3 separate regions of the Homo sapiens genome follow, and regions 1 and 3 are each linked to region 2. Evidence: promoter capture Hi-C in human tissues and cell types (Jung and others, 2019). All regions are on one chromosome and are shown on one strand. The core of a region is centred on a gene start or on the middle of the fragment in contact, and the rest is flanking DNA. Distances in the headings are between cores, read along the strand shown.

Evidence for each region. The method cuts DNA at HindIII sites, captures the fragments that hold promoters and counts their contacts. A contact is called where the count stands out against the background at its distance.
Region 1: a fragment that was not itself captured here is called in contact with the fragment with the promoter of PDCD1 in region 2 in 2 of the 25 tissues and cell types used here (lymphoblastoid cells and spleen).
Region 3: a contact is called between a fragment that was not itself captured here and the fragment with the promoter of PDCD1 in region 2, in 2 of the 25 tissues and cell types used here (fat and lymphoblastoid cells).

What each region holds. Positions count from the first base shown.
Region 1 is chr2:241,715,949-241,719,035 of GRCh38, forward strand. All of the region lies in intron 5 of ING5 (inhibitor of growth family member 5), which reads left to right. Among named protein-coding and RNA genes, the nearest start is that of ING5, 15 kb to the left of the region's middle. The HindIII fragment of the contact is 9,714 bases long and covers 1-3,087 here.
Region 2 is chr2:241,857,247-241,860,640 of GRCh38, forward strand. It overlaps PDCD1 (programmed cell death 1), which reads right to left and starts at 1,648. Exons shown (of 5, transcript NM_005018.3): 1 at 1,517-1,648. The coding sequence starts at 1,592. LOC124908032 (a long non-coding RNA gene) reads left to right here and starts at 1,826. Exons shown (of 2, transcript XR_007088436.1): 1 at 1,826-2,831. RefSeq lists an enhancer at 854-1,816. The HindIII fragment of the contact is 28,999 bases long and covers 1-3,394 here.
Region 3 is chr2:241,647,748-241,650,905 of GRCh38, forward strand. The region is part of intron 1 of ATG4B (autophagy related 4B cysteine peptidase); the gene reads left to right. Among named protein-coding and RNA genes, the nearest start is that of ATG4B, 12 kb to the left of the region's middle. The HindIII fragment of the contact is 8,495 bases long and covers 1-3,158 here.

The DNA.
Region 1 (3,087 bases), core at 93-2,592, 140 kb before region 2:
AAGCCAGCTAATTTTTGTATTTTTAACAGAGACAGGATTTCACCATGCTGGGCAGGCTGGTCTCGAACTCCTGACCTCAAATGATCTGCCCACCTTGGCCTCCCCTCCCTGTAAAGTGCTGGGATTACAGGCATGAGCCACCGCACCCGGCCTTCATTGCAATATTTGGTCTGTTCATATTTAACATAATTAATGATATGGTGGGATTTAGGTTCACCATCTTGCTATTAGTTTTCTGTTTGTTCCTTCTGCTCCTTTGCTGTCTTCTTTTGGACTAATCAGGTATTTTTTAGTATTCCGTTTTTTTCCCCACTCTTGTCTTATTAGCCATGCTTTTTTTTTTTTTTTTTTTTTTGAGACGGAGTCTTGCACTGTTGCCCAGGCTGGAGTACAATTTGCAATGGCATGATCTTGGCTCACTACAACCTCTGCTTCCCAGGTTCAAGCGATTCTCATGCCTCAGCCTCCGCAGTAGCTGGGATTATAGGTGTGCGCCACCACACCCGGCTAATGTTTTTGTATTTTTAGTAGAGACAGGTTTTCACCATTTTGGCCAGGCTGGTCTCGAACCCCTGACCCCAAGTGATCCACCCACCTCGGCCTCCCAAAGTGCTAGGATTACAGGCGTGAGCCACTGCCCCGGCCCCTGTATTTTAAGGATTGTTCTAGTGTGTGCACTCAGTTTCCTTAAGTTATCACAGTGAGCTTCAGATATTACACTATTTGATGTTTAACGTGTGGCTCCACACAAGTGTTCTTCCATTTCCTGCCTTTGTGCTGTTGTCCTTCACTTTGCCTGTGATCTGAGCTTCCCAGCACGTTATTACCTTAGATGCAAACCACTGATGACGTGAAACACGCCTTAAAATATATGTGGAATGTAAAGATGTTGAACTCACAGAAGTAGAGAGTAGAATGGTGGTCAGGCGCTGGGGTGGTCAGGGGAGACGTTGGATACAGAATTTCATTTAGATAGGAGGAATAAGTTCAAAAGATCCGTTTTACAACATGGTGACTACAGTTAATAACAATATAGTCTCAAAAAAATGTGTAGATTTTAAGTGTTCTCACCACAAAAGTCACCCCATATATAGTTACCTCATATAGTTGCCATTTCTGGTAACCTTCATTTTTTTTTTTTTTTGAGACAGAGTCTTGCTCTGTGTCCCAGGCTGGAGTGCAGTGGTGCGATCTCAGCTCACGGCAACCTCTGCCTCCCAGGTTCAAGTGATTCTTGTGCCTCAGCCTCCTGAGTAGCTGAGATTACACCCACCTACTCACCTGGTTAATTTTTGTATTTTTAGTAGAGATGGGGTTTTGCCATGTTGGCCAGGCTGGTCTCGAACTCCTGGCCTCCAGTGACCCTCTCGCCTCAGCCTCCCAAAGTGGCAGGATGACAGGCATGAGCCACCGCGCCTGGCCCAACTATTATTTCTTAATATTTATTTTCTTTCTTTAAAAATTTTTTTTCCATACATATTCTGCTTACGTATATTTCTTTATGTGGATGCAAATTTCTGTCTTGTCATTTCTCCTCTACTGAAGAACTTTAACATTTTTTGCAGTACATGTATGCTGATGGTGATGAATTCTCTGTTTTTGTTTCTCTGAAAATGCTTTTATTTCACTGCGTATAGAATTTTAGGTTGACCTTTTTTCTTTTATCGCTAAAGATGTTCTCTCATTTTCTTCTGTCTTTCATTGATTCTGATGATAAATTACTGATAATAATTATTTTTGGTGGTTTCTTTTTTTTTTTTTGCTTTTAAGATTTCTCATTGTCACTGGCTCTTAACAGTTTGGTTATGATGTGTATTGGTGTGATTTTTTTGTGTATATTTTGCGTGGAACTTGTTGAGCATCTTTGAACTGTTGGTTTATACTTTGCATCGAATTTGGAAAATTTTCAGACAGTTCTTCCAGTATTTTTGTGCTCTCCTTTCTCCTCTTCCTGCTGTCCAGCTCCCTGTGCGTTCCTTAGCTTAGATTTTCTCACAGCTCACCGAGGCTCTGCTTACTTTCTGCAAGCTTTTTTCTTTCTGTACTTCAGTTTGATTTGTTTCTATTACTTTATTTATTTATGAGACAGGTTCAGGCTCTGTGGCCCAGGCTGGAGTGCGGTGGCGCAATCTCCGCTCACCGCAGCCTCTGCCTCCCGGGTTCAAGCCATTCTCCCGCCTCAGCCTTCCAAGTAGCTGGGATTACAGGTGAGCGTCACCACACCCGGCTAAGTTTTGTATTTTTAGTAGAGTCGGGGTTTCAGCCTGTTGGCCAGGCTGGTTTCAAACTCCTGGCCTCAAGTGATCCGCCCAGCTCAGCCTCTCACCTTCCCTTTCCTTCTTTCTTTCCTTCCTTCCTTTCTTCTTTCCTCCCTTCCTCCCTCCCTCCCTCACTTCCTTCCTCCTTCCCTCCCTCCCTCCCTTCCTCCCTCCCTCCCTTCCTTCCTTCCTTCCTTCTTTTCTCTTTCTGTCTTTTTTTTTTTTTTTTTGAGACGGTCTTGCTTGGTCACCCAGGCTGGAGTGCACTGGTACAATCTTGGCTCACTGCAAGCTCCGCCTCCCAAGTTCAAGCGATTCTCTGCCTCAGCCTCCCAAGTAGCTGGAATTACAGGCACGTGCCACCATGACTGGCTAATTTTGTATTTTTAGTATAGACAGGGTTTCACCGTGTTATGCAGGCTGGTCTCGAACTCCTGGCCTCAGGTGGATCTGCCTGTTTTTGGCCTCCCGATGTGCTGGGATTACAGGCGTGAGCTGCTGTGCCCGGCCCTAAGTTAGTTTTAATCTCCTTTAATACATTTTTCATTTAAGAGATTGTAGGGCTGGGTGCTTTGGCTCATGCCTGTAATCTCAGCACTTTGGAAGGCTGAGGTGGGAGGGTCACTTGAGTAGCCGGGATCACAGGCATGTGCCACCATTCCTTGGTAACCAGCTTTTAAAAAAACATAATCAGTCCTATTTCCCTGCTGAGGGTACATGTCTCATGATTTATTAGCTGTCTGACTTTAGATATAAAGGAAGCGTGGAGAGGGAAATTTCTGTTCTCCCCAGGAGGTGTTCGTTCTGTTTTAGTCCAGGCCAATAGGGC
Region 2 (3,394 bases), core at 398-2,897:
GGACCCCAGTCATGCCCACTGCGCCTTGCTGAGTGCCCTGTGCTGTTACCAGTGGGGAAACCGAGGCATGCCACCTGTGAGAGTCTTGTCCGGCACAAGCGCGGGCACCTGAGGCACGAGTGTCAGGCTGCGGACACCTTGCTCTTATCTTTCCCGCCTGGGTCGGGGAGGGTGGCGTCCCGAGGGCGTGCCTGAAGAGCCGGGACACGGGGGGAGAGGCTCGGCTCCCCTCCTGCCTCGCTCAGCTCCCCCTCCCCTGTGACGAGCGCCCCTCTGCCCTCTGGTTCCCCCGCAGTCGTCTCCCTGGGATGCCTTTTGGCCCTTTGCTCTTTGCCTTTTGCCCAGAATCTCCAGTTCTGAGTCCTGAGTGACCCACGGGCCAACCTTAAGAGGTGGCGCTGAGGCAGGAAGGCACGGCCCTGACAAGGATGCTGCCTCAGGTGCCGGGGAGCAGGCCCCGGGAGAGGGGCCGAGGTGGGGAACCCCCAGTCGCCTGCCACAGTGAAGGGGCACCAGGACCCCCGGGGCAGGAGCCTCGAGGGGGTGTCAGGGCGGCCCCAGGGGTGCCCCTCATCTTGTCCTCCCAGTGGTGTCACACCCCGGTACCCAGCAGGGCCCAGAGGGACTGTCTTAGGCTTGGCCTGGGTGAAACCACCCTCCCCAGGCCTTGGCATCCCCAGGTGCAGGCTGGCTGGGCACAGAGGGCCAGCCGGGCACAGAGGGTCCAGGAGCGGGCTGTGGTCACAGTGTACACAGAGGGCCCAGGGTCACGGGCAGCCCAGGAAGAGGCTCCCTCTCTCCTCGATCCGGGAGAGTGAGGCCAAGGCCTCCCCCACGGATGGTCTGAACAGGGCTCGGGGAGAGCCCTGGAATCTGGGCAGAGACCCAGGCGGGCACAATCCCCACCCAGGAGGGATCCTGGAGACAGAAGAACTGTCCTCACTCGAACAGGTACACTTTGGATATAATGAGAAAAATATCACCAGCTCATCTAAACTTTGACGTCGTAAAGCCAAGGTTAGTCCCACATGGGGCTCATCCCATCCTTAGGAAAACTCGAGTGAGGACCAAGGATGCCTGGGCAAGGCAGAGCCGCCACGCAGACTCCCCACGGCCAAGGTTTGGGGTTCTGGCCAGCCTGACCCGTCATTCTACAGAAACACGCAGCCCCAAGGACCGGCTGAGAGGGGACAGAGGTCCTGCCTGCCCAGGAGCAAAGAGGGGACTTGGGCCAGGGGAGGAGTTGGGGCCCAGAGAGGAACCCAGGAGTTCGAGCTGCCCAAAGCCACACAGCTCAGGGTAAGGGGCAGAGCTGGGGGCCAAGGCTGGGCCTGCCACAGCACCCCCCGACCTGCCAGGGACTGAGAGTGAAAGGTCCCTCCAGACCCCTCGCTCCGGGACCCCTGGGCTGCCAGGGCCAGGCCCGCCTCAGCACCCCCCGACCTGCCAGGGACTGAGGGTGGAAGGTCCCTCCAGACCCCTGGCTCTGGGACACCTGACCGCCGACCCCACCTACCTAAGAACCATCCTGGCCGCCAGCCCAGTTGTAGCACCGCCCAGACGACTGGCCAGGGCGCCTGTGGGATCTGCATGCCTGGAGCAGCCCCACCAGAGTGCCGCCTTCTCCACTGCTCAGGCGGAGGTGAGCGGAAGGGAAACTGTCCCAGGTCAGGTTGAAGGGAGGGTGCCCGCCCCTTGCTCCCGCCCCCTCTTCCTCCACATCCACGTGGGCGAGAGTGACAGAGGCAGTGCTGGGGGAGGAGGGGTGAGGAGGGGGTAGGACTGGGGAGAGGGTGGGGGAGGGAGAGAGAGACAGAGACAGGGAGACAGAGGAGATGGGGAGGAGGTGGGCCCGTGGCCCCCACGCCCTACCCCGTGGGGGTCTCCCCAGCTCAGGGCCCCTTCCTCCTCTGTGTCTCTGCTCACTGCTGTGGCCTCTTTCCATATCCCGCCCGAGCTGCCCCTCCTGAGGCTGCCGGGTGGGGGCAGGCCCTTCTCCTCCCCCATCCCCCCCATCTCCCTGGGGGCCGGGCCTCCCTGCCTGGGGAAGGTGGGTGGCCCCCTCTGGGCTCAGGTTCCTGGGCTGCAGTGAGGGGTGGGCTCAACCCCACTCCCATTCTGTCGGAGCCTCTGGGAGCCTCCCGGCTGCCCACAGCCTCTGCCCCTGCTGGGGGCAGGTGCCTGGCCTCTGCCTTCCCGGCCCATCCCCCTTCGCTGGGGCACAGGTGACCCTACTGAATGACAACTGTCCATGGCTAATCGGCTCCCCCTCAAAGCTTCCACCTTGTGGATGGCCTCACACCATGGCCACAGTTCCAGATCTTTCCACCGTGTGATGCCTGCAACAGCCTGACGGGGGGGCTGGGGCGGTGGCAGGGGCTGGCTGTGAGGCTGACCTCCCCTTCCAGCCTTGACCTTCTTCCCCGGGGCCCTGCCCTCCAGCCCACTCGTGCCAGGGTGGGGTGGTTCAGGGGGTCCAGTGCCTGGGCCTGGCTGGCGGCCCGGCGTTTGTGAAATGGCTTGCTTATCTCCTTGTATTCTGTGCTGAGCATTTTATTACAGCGAATGGAAAACAGGAGAAATGAAACTGCTGATATTAGTGATGAGATGCGTCAGGCTCATCAGCTTAAAATAACCGAAGCGAGGCTAGAAACCGCCTGACAGCTGGCGCGGCTGCCTGGCTCCGAGAGACACTCGGCCCGGCTCTGAAGGGAAAACATTAAAGCACCGAAACAGTGGAAAAAGAGCATCAAAGATGATGTCTGCGAGGCGCGGCCACGGCGAGGAAGCTCTCGTTTATGAACAAAGGGCCACTCCCGGGTCTCAGAGATGTGAGGCTGTGTGGGTGGCTTGGTGGGGAGGTGGGGGGGGCCCAGCTGGCCAGGTGGGCTTGGCGGGGGGCCCCCAGGGAGCCTGGCAGCACCCACTGTGCTGCCAGACAGCTAAGGTGGCCCGCAGCAACTGTCTCCTGGCACACCCACCCTTGTGCCTCAGGGGCTGGGGCTCTGGGGCTGGAGAACTGTTGGTTGGTAGGTGCCTCCATAGCCCTGTGCCTCGCCCAGGCAGTGGATAAGTGGCTAAGCTGCCCCTGCTGGCTGTACTTGTCCTGAAGGCAGATTCTGGACAGAACCTCCCTCTGCCCCCAGCCCTGTAGAGCCTTGTTCCAACCTCTGTTGAATGCTGTCTCTGTTCCAGGGCAGCAGTGGGCCTTCCTCAAGGCTCTGAGCTTTGTGGGACGAAGCTGTCCTCTGAGGACTGGGAATGCCACTGTGTGGGCTGGAGGGGAGGCTGGGCCCAGGAGGTGGGCTCTGAGATGGGAGATGCTATCAGACCCCTGGAAGGTCTCCTCACCACCAAGGCCCTGCCCCCAAAATTCCACCTGCCAGGGCTTGGA
Region 3 (3,158 bases), core at 623-3,122, 210 kb before region 2:
GGGACTTCTGAAGATTCAGGAGTGGCTTTAGAGAGGTAGCAGGGACATCATGATGTTTTTCAGCTCTTTAAAAAGATAGGAGTGGGCCGGATGCTGTGGCTCACGCCTGTAATCCCAGCACTTTGGGAGGCCGAGGTGGGTGGATCACTTGAGGTCAGGAGATCGAGACCAGCCTGGCTAACACAGTGAAACCCTGTCTCTACTAAAAATACAAAAATTAGCCGGGCATGGTGGCAGATGTCTGTAATCCCAGCTACTCGGGAGGATGAGGCAGGAGAATTTCTTGAACCCGGAAGGTGGAGGTTGCAGGGAGCCAAGATCATGCCACTGCACTTCAGCCTGGGCAACAGAGTGAGACTCCATCACAAAAGAATAAAAAAAAGGCATGGACCTTAATTCATCCTAATTCAGTTTTTGTAATCATGTGCAGAAACAAGTAACATATATATAAAAAGGCAGGAGAGAATGTAAACTTGGACTTTATTTATTCACAGTCACCAAGCAGTTTGGTTGATAATGTCTCTGAAAGCATGGACAAGTGAAATATGTAAGAGCAGAGCTCTTGGGGGCCAGGTGCAGTGGCTCATGCCTGTAATCCCAGCCTTCGGGAGGCTAAGGCAGGTGGATTGCTTGAGCCTAGGAGTTTGAGACCAGCTTGACAACATGATTAGACCTCATCTCTACAAAAAATACAAGAATTAGCTGGGTGTGGTGGCACATGCCTGTAGTCTCAGCTGCTCAGGAGGCTGAGACCGGAGAATTGATTGAGCCTGGGAGTTTGAGGCTGCAGTAAGCTGTGATTACACCACTGTACTCCAGCCTGGGTGACAAAATGAGTCCCGGTCTCAAAAAAAAAAAAGAAAAAAAAACAGGAGCAGAGCTCTTGGACAAAGCCCTGCTGTGGAAAGCTTGCTTCATCTGGCTGCAGCCGCTCCACAACGCCCGTCATCTTGCTCAGGAAGCCACAGCACTACTCTAGGAAAGGGGCAGAGAGGGGCCTGGGTCTCCCACAGCTGAGAATCCTTTAAACAGTGCCTGTAGGGCCCTCTATTGTGGATTTGGTAGTTCTGCCTGCACCGAGGGAGATGCTTGCAGGTGCTTCTGAACCCTGTGTTTGGGAATTAGCTGCGCATACAATTAAGGCTTTTGGGTATAGTAAAATTTGTGTGCCTTTGACCCTGTGGTTCTGAGTCCTCGATGTTAATGACAGAGCGGACATTGCAGCCCTTCTGTCTGCCAGCCAGCACCTCATTGGAAGTGTTTCATTGAAACGTCACACCCATATGCTGAGGCTGTCCTGTTGTTATCCCATTTTATGGATGAGGGAACATTCACACTTAGAAGTTAAGTGAGTGGCCCAGGAAACTACAGTTTACCAGTACCCAAGCTGGGCTTTAAATTCTGACTGCCCCCTGCCTCCCCAAGGGGATTGTGCACAGCACAGAAGTTCACACACGATGCTTTTTAGTATCAGCTTAGGTGGAGATCTGTGTTTATGTAGAATGCTGAGGAAACCACAGGCATAGTATGATTTCACGTACGAACCTGTGCATAAAGACTTCTGGAAAGAGTCATTGCTGGGCAACGAGGCTTCACGTGATTTGTGTATTTTTGTAGTCTTCAGAATTTTTTATGATTAGCATATGTCATTCTTATTGAAGTGTGGGGTTGTTATCAAAAAGTAAATTTAGATGTGGGAGAAATTCATATGTGATTGATTTTCAAAAGATTGCTGTAAAGTTGCTGGTGAAGGATGAGTGATCAGACACCATCAGAGCTGGAGAGGCAGCAGATGGGAATTGTGTGTTCCCAGTTCCCTGAAGAGCAGCTGGAGAGAGATGCCTCTGGTGCCGCCCCAGAATACGCAATGGGCATCTCGCCACATGGGTGTTTGGGCTGGTGCATTGCTGCTGGCTGGCGCCTTCTTTTCAGGAACATTGTGGGACATGGGTATCCTCAGCCACAGTTCTGTGGACAGGAAGACCCTGGGCCTCTCTAGTTTCTTTCTTTCTTTTTTTTCTTTTTCTTTTCTTTTTCTTTTTTTTTTTTTTTTGAGATGGAGTTTCACTCTTGTCACCCAGGCTGGAGTGCAGTGGCACAATCTCAGCTCACTGCAACCTCCACCTTCTGGGTTCAAGTGATTCTCTTGGCTCAGTCTCCCTAGTAGCTGGGATTACAGGCGCCCGCCACCACGCCTGGCTAATTGTTGTACTTTTAGTAGAGACGGAGTTTCACCATGTTGACCAGGCTGGTCTCAAACTCCTGGCCTCAGGTGATCTGCCCACCTCGGCCTCCCAGAGTGCTGGGATCACAGGCATGAGCCACTGTGCCTGGCCTAGTTTCTTAATTGAAGTAAAACAGAGTAAGATGGCATGCAGGGCTAATCATTAGCCCAGCAGGTAAGCACCATGGCTCTGCAGCCAGCTGCCTCCTTAGAAAGTGGGGTGTTGCCCCATGGAAGTGGTGGCATGCTCTTCTGGTAGCATTGTTGAAATGAAAACAGGTTCAGTCCTTGATCACTAGGCTTTTTGTACCCGGGTACCTCTGGGGACTTGGCAGAGAGTTTGATCTCTCAGTGTCCAGGGGTTAACTTTCTACCTGAGAGTAGCACCCCATGCTTCTCCAGCACCTGCTCCTAACCAGGAAATTGGGGTAGACCAGAACCCCAGTCTTCCCAGCAGCTCAGTGTTTCTTGCCCCGGAGCATCTGCCTTCATCACAGTGACTCTGAACACGCTGCCATGGTGACATCTGGTAAACCTTAGGATGGCCATGGAAAACGACTCTTTGCCCTGTTTCTTCTTGGCTTCCCTTGCGTACAAGGATGAAGGAGGTGGTTTAACTTTATTTTTGTCCTTTACTTTTTAAGTCTAAAGTAAGTGCTTGAATCGGGTGGGTTTTCATTTTTTTGCTTTCTCACCCCTCAGGTTGGCCCCTAACTTGGCCTCTCACCCTCGTGTCAGCTGTTAGACACTGACTCAGTGGCTCAGAATATGAAAGGCTCAGGAAGTAGCATGCTGGCCCCACCTCCCTGTCCCCATACCTTAGCAGAGCAGCTGCCCAGCAGGGCCTCCTTCTCTTTCCTAAGAGTTTACTCCATCCATGGTGGGTGTCTTGGTAGGCCCGAGATACGAGAGGGAGTGCTGCTGTTACAAGAAT